Linked DNA regions of Homo sapiens: region 2 is linked to region 1. Evidence: promoter capture Hi-C in human tissues and cell types (Jung and others, 2019). All regions are on one chromosome and are shown on one strand. Each heading gives the region's core, a stretch centred on a gene start or on the middle of the fragment in contact. The rest is flanking DNA. Distances are from core to core; before and after follow the strand shown. Region 1 holds the start of ZFYVE19 (zinc finger FYVE-type containing 19). Region 2 overlaps CHP1 (calcineurin like EF-hand protein 1).

Region 1 (4,398 bases), core at 925-3,424:
TTCCCTGAACCTGGGGGGCAGAGGTTGCAGTGAGCCAAGGTTGCACCACTGCACTCCAGCCTAGGCAAGAGAGTGAGACTCCGTCTCAAAAAAAAACCCTCCAGATTTCCCACTTGGATCTTTTGTGAAATGTCTCAAATAGTTTCTCACTATTAATAAAGTACTAATTAAATAATTTGCAGGCAGGGCATAGTGGCTCACACCTGTAATCCCAGCACTTTGGGAGGCCGAGGTGGGAAGATCACGAGGTCAGGAATCCAAGACTGGCCTGGCCAACACGGTGAGACCCCGTCTCTACTAAAAATACAAAAATTAGCTGGGCGTGGTGGCGGGTGCCTGTAATCCCAGCTACTTGGGAGGCTGAGGCAGGAGAATCACTTGAAACAGGAAGGCGGAGGTTGCAGTGAGCCGAGATCATGCCACTGCACTCCAGCCTGGGCCAAAGAGTGATACTCTGTCTCAAAAAAAAAAAAAAAAAAAAAATTAGCCGGGCGTGGTGGTACATGCCTGTAGTCCCAGCTACTCCGGAGGCTGAGGCAGGAGAATCGCTTGAACCTGGGAGGCAGAAGTTGCAGTAAGCTGAGATTGCGCCACTGCACTCCAGCCTGGGCGACAGAGCGAGACTCCGTCTCAAAAAATAATAATAGGCCGGGCACGGTGGCTCACGCTTGTAATCCCAGCACTTTGGGAGGCTGAGGTGGGCAGATCACGAGGTCAGGAGATCGAGACCACGGTGAAACCCCGTCTCTACTAAAAATAAAAATTATTAGCCGGGCATGGTGGCAGGCGCCTGTAGTCCCAGCTACTTGGAGAGGCTCAGGCAGGAGAATGGCGTGAACCCGAGAGGCGGAGGTTGCAGTAAGCCGAGATCGCGCCACTGCACTCCAGCCTGGGCCACAGAGCGAGACTCCGTCTCAAAAACAATAATAAAAAATAATAATAATAAAGAATTTAAAAAATAATAATTTGTAAACATAGAGCACTTAGAATACTATCCAGAAAAAAAAAATACTGTCTAGGACATAGTAAGCATTATACAGATGTTAGGAATTATTAATCCTAAAATATTGAAACACGAGAGAGGTGGAGCAGATGCTTTTGATGCTTCATAGACATCCCATGGCCATTTCTGATTTCAGCTGCGGCTGCAGGGGACAGATTTGTGCAGGTTGACAGCATTTCTCAAGGGCCCTCTGGGTCTCTCTGATTTTCTGCCCCAGAGCTTCCTCTTCTCAAAAGCTCACTCACCCCATGAGCAGGGCAGCCCAGAAGTACTGGGACATTAGTGGGCACTATTTTTTTTTCCTTTTTTTTTTTTTTTTTTGAGACAGTCTCGCTCTGTCGCCCAGACTGGAGTGCAGTGGTGCAATCTCAGCTCACTGCAACCTCCGCCTCCCGGGTTCCAGTGATTCTCCTGCCTCAGCCTCCCAAGTAGCTGGGACTACAGGTGTGTGCCACCACGCCCGGCTAATTTTTGTATTTTTAGTAGAGAAGGGGTTTCAGCATATTGGTCAGGCTGGTCTCGAACTTCTGACCACATGATCCGCCCGCCTCGGCCTCCCAAAGTGCTGAGATTACAGGCGTGAGCCACCGCGCCCGGCCTAGTAGACACTAATTTTCTTTCTTTCTTTCTTTTTTTGAGAAAGAGTCTTGCTCTGTCGCCCAGGATGGAGTGCAGTGGCGCGATCTCGGCTCAGTTGGGCACTAATTTTCATTTGATGAACGCCTCTCCTTCGTATATTGTTAAAACTACCACCATGATCCAGGGGGAGATAAAAGAAATCCTAAATCCAGCTTGATCAGTGTTTCACTCCCTGGCATCTTTATCACCACCTAAGGTAGCATGGACCTCTATACCATCTGCCTTAACCTTCTGATCCTCCTGCTTTTAGCCCACTAACTAGCACATGCTGAGAAGGGCATCAGCTACTTGAAAAGAGTCAATGGGCTTGAGTGGAAAAGAAAATAGAGACAGCAGGGTCATCGGTCACATTGGCAAGGGGGCATGAAAAGGGAGTGGAGAGGCTTTGAGATCTTACTTTTCTTTCGTTCTAGGCTCTTAGTGGAAGAATTAAATCAGCCTGCAGAAGAGACTGAAATGAGGCACCTCTTGTCACAGTCAAGGCAGAAGCGGAAACGGAGGCCGAGACTGCGCAGGCGCAGAGGAGGCTAGCGTTCCTTGCTGCCTCGCCCCGCGGCCTCTAGGAGACAGGGGCCACGGGGAGAGCACAGCCACCCGGCGCGAAGAGCCCTCTGTACCCCGCTTCCTCTTGAGGCCCTCGGACCGTCCAGGAAATGTCTGGGAGCCCGCCTGCGGAGGGCATAGCGCCGACCCTCGCTCCCCGCCCAGGACCCGAATGAACCTGGAGAGCGGATGCCAGCAGTGGCCGAGGCGCTAGGACAGGAAGGACCGCCAGACCTCTCAAGATCAGCCTTCCTCGCCACCGTTCTCACCTCTTTGTCCGCTGCCTTCTCCTCAATGCCTAGCAGCGCGTACAGGTCCATCTGTAAGAGCTCCTTGGTCACTGCCATGGTTCCGGCCTGACGGATTCGTACTACAACTCCCAAGAGTCTAAGCGCGCGTGAGGACTGCAGGCTCCGAGCGGCGCCTAGCCCTCTGGGAATTGTGTTCTGGGTCAGGCTTGACTGACTCTGAGGGAGGCCGGCAGTCGTGAATGAACTACGACTCCCAGCAGCCCCCGTTGCCGCCGCTGCCGTACGCTGGCTGCAGGAGAGCGTCCGGATTCCCTGCTCTAGGTCGCGGCGGGACAGTGCCAGTGGGCGTGTGGGGCGGGGCAGGGCAGGGAAGGGAAGGGCGGAGCTGGGGTGAGGGTCCAAGGGGCCCAGGACTTGGCCGGCGTGATCTCAGCTCTGCAGACCCTGCGGTGCTGGGAGCCACCATGGAGAGTAGGTGCTACGGCTGCGCTGTCAAGTTCACCCTCTTCAAGAAGGAGGCGAGTCTTCCCTCCCCGAGGGCTGCAGGGCCAGGGAGGAGAGGAGGGAAAAGCGCGGGACTTAACGTCCAAAGACTTGGTCTTACGGCTCCTTTCCAGCTGTGTGGTTTTGATGAAGTCATTGATCCTCAGTTTCCATTTCTGTAAAATGGGGCTAACATTCTCTCGCTTTCAGGGTTTATGTGAGGGTCCACTGAAGTGCTTTAGGTGAGAGTTCCCTATAAACTGTAAAGCGCGCTGCCGTCGTTTTTGCAAAGCTACTCTTTTCTGTCGGCCCAGTGTAGCATCTGGCGGTTTTCTTCTCTCCACCCTGCTCCTCCGAAGCGCGGTGTCCATCACACCAAGCCCGTTACTCCCTCTGCTCTGAAATCTTCCCCATCCCGCAGCCTGCCCTTCTCCAGGTCGCTGGAGTTAGATTACCACACTTCCTCCTGCTTCCGGGGCACCATGGTGAAGGCTGACTGTCCTGTCCCTATCACAGACCTGCCAGATTCCTCTGGTAAACTGCAGGTTCCCTCTGCCTCAGTTGTGGCCAGGGATTCTGACCAGGAGATGATGGGAACTAGATGGAGTAAATTAGTGTCACGCAGGAAGGCAGGACCGTGCAGCATTCACCAACCTGGATTTTGGAGTCAGCGTTCAAATCTGAGCTCTGCTGTCTTATTGAGGCGGTGACCTTGGTTTGGATAAGTTATGTAACCTCTCTGGCCCTCTCAAAATAAGGATAATCACGGTTGGCATCAAGATTAAGTAAAATAATGTGTGTAAATTGTAAGGAATAAATCACATGATGAATGTTAAGTACTGGGTTTAGTGCCTGGCACATAGTAAGTGCTTAATAAATGGAGGCTATTGTTAGCCCATCCTGAGCCAAGCCTCCCTCCATCTCTGCAAGAGCAGAGGAGGCATCGGCTCTGCCCTGTCTCTCTGATTCTCCTTTGTGGAAGAGTCAGTGGCCTGAAATACTGGGCTTTATCTATCTGTCTTCTACATCCCTGGGTCAGGGAATTGAAGACAGGGTAGAAAGCATGGGAATTTTGTATAAACCTTCATTTGGCTTGAATAAGGTACTGGAAACCGAGGAATTGCTTTACTCACCATCCCTAGGCCTTAGGGGCCCCACTCCTCTTCTTCCTCCCAGCAGCTGGTCATAACTTCAGTGACTTCTCTCTGTGTGTGCTTGGAGAGTCCCTGGGAGCAGCCTGCAGGGGCGGGTGAGAGGGGGATCTCCCGCTTCATGTTTCTTGTAGTACGGCTGTAAGAATTGTGGCAGGGCCTTCTGTTCAGGCTGCCTAAGCTTCAGTGCAGCAGTGCCTCGGACTGGGAACACCCAACAGAAAGTCTGCAAGCAATGCCATGAGGTCCTGACCAGGTAAGAGGCAGGCATGGGTGAAAGTTCAGCCAAGTATGGCAGTGGGCATCTGGCCAGCCCTCACAGCTTTGT
Region 2 (4,567 bases), core at 1,440-3,939, 430 kb after region 1:
TTCTCATTTGTTGCCATAAAGGAGTAAGAAGCAACTATTTGTCAATTAGAGAGGGCATTGTGGGAAAGAGACCCTAAGAACTTTTTTTTTTTTTTTTTGAGACAGGGTCTCACTCTGTTGCCCAGGCTGGAGTGCAGTGGTGCAATCATAGCTCATTGCAGCCTCAAACTCCTGGCCTCAAATGATCCTTCCACCCCAGACTTTCAAAGTACTGGGATTATAGATGTGAGCCACTGTGCCTGGCAACTACCTGATTTTTAATTTTTATTTATTTATTTTTTCAGACAGGGTCTTGCTCTGTCATCCAGGCTGGAGTGCAATGGCATGATCACGGCTCACTGCAGCCTCAAGCTTCTGGGCTCAAGCAATCCTCCCAGCTCAGCCTCCTGAGTAGCTGGGACTACAGGCACATGCCACCACGCCTGGCTAATTTTTTAATTTTTTGTAGAGATAGGGTTTCACCATGTTGCCCAGGCTGGTCTTGAACTCCTGAGTTCAGGTGGTCCGCTCATCCCAGTCCCCCAAAGTGCTGCGATTACAGAGGTGAGCCACTGGCCAGGAACTTTTTTGCGGGGGCAAGGAGGGGATGGTGGTCCAGACCAGAGAGTAGTTGGAGGTTTATTCATTCAGAAGATAATTGACCCCAGCAGCAGCTGCGAAGATATAAGCTTTATTTTTGTAAATTTCTGGATAAACCATTTGAAAGTTGCAGGTATTGGAACTCTTTACCCCTTCATACTTCTGCATGTATCCCTTAAGTATTGGGATGGTTTTTACGTAACAACAATACTATTATCACACCTAAGAAAGTTGATAATACTTCTTAATACTATCTTTTTTTTTTTTTTGAGACAGAGTCTTGCTCTTGTTGCCCAGGCTGGAGTGCAGTGACTCGATCTCAGCTCACTGCAACCTCTGCCTCCTGGGTTCAAGCCATTCTCTTGCCTCAGCTTCCCAAGTAGCTGGGATTACAGGTGCCTGCCACCAGGCCTGGCTAATTTTTTGTATTTTTAGTAGAGATGGGGTTTCGCCACGTTGGCCAGGCTGGTCTCGAACTCCTGACCTCAGGTGATCCACCCACTTCAGCCTCCCAAAGTGCTGGGATTACAGGCGTGAGCCACCGCACCTGGCCCCTTTTTTTCTTTTTCTTTTTTTTTTTTTAATTGAGATGGAGTTTCACTTTTGTCGCCCAGGCTGGAGTGCAGTGGCGCGATCTCAGCTCACTGCAACCTCCGCCTCCTGGCTTCAAATGATTCTCCTGCCTCAGCCTCCCAAGTAGCTGGGATTACAGGCATGTGCCACCACGCCTGGCTAATTGTTTTTATTTTTAGTAGATACGAGGTTTTACCATGTTGGCCAGGCTGGTCTCGAACTCCTAACCTCAGATGATCTGCCTGCCTCAGCCTCCCAAAGGGCTAGGATTATAGACGTGAGCCACCTTAATATTATCTATCATTCACTTCCTATTCAAATTTCTCCAATTATAAGAAGATAGATTTTGTTTGTTTTATATAATGTTTTAAAATCTCTCTTAATCCCTAAGAGACTAGTCCAGGGCTTGAAGTCTTCATGTCAGGGGGAATGTTAAGGTGTAGTCTATTCCGGGAAGCGCAGGCTTCAACTTTCCTTTATCTAGAGCTACCTTTAGCTGTACTTGTAATCTTTACATAGGTTATCAGTCTGTTCTTCTGCATTAAGATTTGGAATAAAGGCAAGGACAAAATAACTTTTTCTTTTCTTTTTTTTTGAGATGGAGTCTCGTTCTGTCACCAGGCTGGAGTGCAGTGGTGCAATCCCGCCTCCCGGGTTCAAGGGATTCTCCCGCCTCAGCCTCCTGAGTAGCTGGGACTATAGGCACGTGCCACCATGCCCGGCTAATTTTTGTATTTTTAGTAGAGATGGGGTTTCCCCATGTTGGCCAGGATGATCTTGATCTCTTGACCTCGTAATCCACCCACCTCCCAAAAGTGCTAGGATTACAGGCATGAGCCACCATGCCTGGCCCTCCAAAATAACTTTTTCTTACTCCCTTTTTGTTTTTATTCTTTCCTCTGCCACTTCTGCTTCGCACTTCTGTGAAATGCCTTCCTCCTCTTTGCACAATGCAGTGATGATAGAAAGATTTCAGCAACGTTAACAGGGTCTTTTTTTGTTTTTTTGGCGTGTGTTTTTTTTTTGAGACAGGGTCTCACTCTGTCACCCAGGTTGGAGTGGAGGGGTGTGATCATAGCTCACTACAACCTTGAACTCCTGGGCTGAAACAGTCCTTCTGCCTCTGCCTCCTAAATAGCTCAGCGTACAGGAATGCACCACGATGCCCAGCTAATGATTGATTGATTGATTATAGAGATGAAGTCTTGCTTTGTTGCCCAGGCTAGTTTTGAACTGGCCTTTCGTCAAGGGATCCTCCCACTTTAGCCTCCCAAAGTGCTAGGATTACAGGCATGAGCCACTGCCCTCAGCCAAACAGGGTCTTTTAAATAATCTTTTAACAATTTAAAATGATTATATACCCATACCAGTGGAGAAAAAATACAGCTTCATTCAAGACATGTTTATAGCAGGGCACGGTGGCTCATGCCTGTAATCCCAGCACTTTAGGGCGGCTGAGGCGGGTGGATCACGAGGTCGGGAGATCGAGATCATCCTGGCTAACACGGTGAAACCTGGTCTCTACTAAAAATACAAAAAAAAAAAAAAATTAGCCAGGCATGGTGGTGGCAGGTACCTGTAGTCGCAGCTACTCAGGAGGCTGAGGCAGGAGAATGGCCTGAACCTGGGAGGCAGAGTTTGCAGTGAGCCAAGATCGCGCCACTGCACTCCATCCTGGGTGACAAAGCAAGCCTCCATCTCAAAAAAAGAAAAAAGACACGTTTATATGCACGGCCTTCTCTGAGAGTAACTGTCAACTCCTGTTATTTCCTTTGGGTTACCAAGAATTGTGCAGGTTTTGGGCACCTATCTGACTAGCTTAGAGCCTTCTGGGGAAAATACTTCACTGGAAACATGATCTGCCTTCATTCACACCAGTTCCAGTACCTTTCTACACATGGATGGTGTAGCTCCTTTATAGGTAGATTGGGATTGTTCTGAGATTGCTTTATATTCTTTGTCACAGTGAATTTAGTACCTAAATTAAAGCCTTCTCTCCTTCTTTTTGTTAACAAAATTACTTGTAACCATATCGTTATGGTTCTAAAATTTGTTCTAAAATTTTGGAGATAAGTTTAGATATGACCATATTGATTAGTATTAAAAGTTGACATTTGGTTGTATGTTTCTCCACTGACTCCCATATAACCCAGTTCGTCCTGGAAGATAGTTTTTTTTTTTTTAATGTTTTGGCTACTTATTTACATTATTTATTTTTAACATATTAGTACATTATTTTTTGTTATCGTTTGTTTTGTTTTGTTTTGTTTTGAGGCGGAGTCTCACTCTGTCGCCCAGGCTGGAGTGCAGTGGTGAGATTTCAGCTCACTGCAACCTCCATCTCCCAGGATCAAGCGATTCTCCTGCCTCAGCCTCCCAAGTAGCTGGGATTATACCACCACACCTGGCTAATTTTTGTATTTTTAGTAGAGACAGGGTTTTACCATGTTGGCCAGGCTGGTCTTGAACTCTTGGCCACAGGTGATCTGCCCGCCCTCAGCCCCCCAAAGTGCTGGTATTGCAGGCTTGAGCCACCAGGCCTTGCCACATTTTGAATTTAAGCAGCCATAAACTGGTCTTAACATACTATAGGAGGTTTCAGTGCCCAGTTATTTTATTTCTTTTTTATTTATTTATTTTTTCGAGACAGAGTCTCCTCTCTGTCACCCAGGCTGGAGTGCAGTGGCGCAATCTCAGCTCACTGCAAGCTCCGCCTCCCAGGTTCAAACCATTCTCCTGCCTCAGCCTCCCGAGTAGCTGGGACTACAGGTGCCTGCCACCACGCCCGTCTAATTTTTTGTATTTGTAGTAGAGACAGGGTTTCACCGTGTTAGCCAGGATGGTCTCAATCTCCTGACCTCGTGATCCGCCCGCCTCGGCCTCCCAAAGTGCTGGGATTACAGCTGGGATTACAGGTGTGAGCCACCACGCCCAGCCTCAGTGCCCAGTTATTTTAGATGATATAGATTAGAAAGATGTTTAATGGCTCATTTGTGGATTTTTTTGGTTTAAAATAATTTTATTTTTTATTTTTATTTTTATTTTGTTCCCCAGCCTGGTCTTGAACTCCTGGCCTCAAATCATTGTCCTGCTTCTGCCTCTGGAAGTGCTGGGATTATAGGCGCCAGCCATCATGCCTGGCTCTCATTTGTTCATTGAAGGGGTCGGATTAGATAACATTTCTACCAATTTTAAAATTATATAAATTGGATAAAGAAGGACTCCAAAGCAATATAGAAAAAGTATGAATTACTAAATGAAAAGCAAGCTATTACAACTTTGTAAAGTACACGAGTAACTGATATTAGATGATATATGAAGAGCTGGGCGCGGTGGCTCATGCCTGTAATCCCAGCACTTTGGGAGGCCGAGGTGAGTGGATCACCCGAGGTTGGGAGTTTAAGACCAGCCTGAC

Evidence for each region. The method cuts DNA at HindIII sites, captures the fragments that hold promoters and counts their contacts. A contact is called where the count stands out against the background at its distance.
Region 2: a fragment that was not itself captured here is called in contact with the fragment with the promoter of ZFYVE19 in region 1 in 1 of the 25 tissues and cell types used here (lymphoblastoid cells).

Annotation. Positions count from the first base shown.
Region 1 is chr15:40,804,915-40,809,312 of GRCh38, forward strand. ZFYVE19 (zinc finger FYVE-type containing 19) reads left to right here and starts at 2,175. Exons shown (of 11, transcript NM_001077268.2): 1 at 2,175-2,954; 2 at 4,205-4,326. The coding sequence starts at 2,676. It overlaps DNAJC17 (DnaJ heat shock protein family (Hsp40) member C17), which reads right to left and starts at 2,559. Exons shown (of 11, transcript NM_018163.3): 1 at 2,455-2,559. The coding sequence starts at 2,532. RefSeq lists enhancers at 1,838-1,927, 2,388-2,437, 2,478-2,527, 3,158-3,207. The HindIII fragment of the contact is 16,570 bases long and covers 1-4,398 here.
Region 2 is chr15:41,235,999-41,240,565 of GRCh38, forward strand. All of the region lies in intron 1 of CHP1 (calcineurin like EF-hand protein 1), which reads left to right. Among named protein-coding and RNA genes, the nearest start is that of CHP1, 7.0 kb to the left of the region's middle. The HindIII fragment of the contact is 5,914 bases long and covers 1-4,567 here.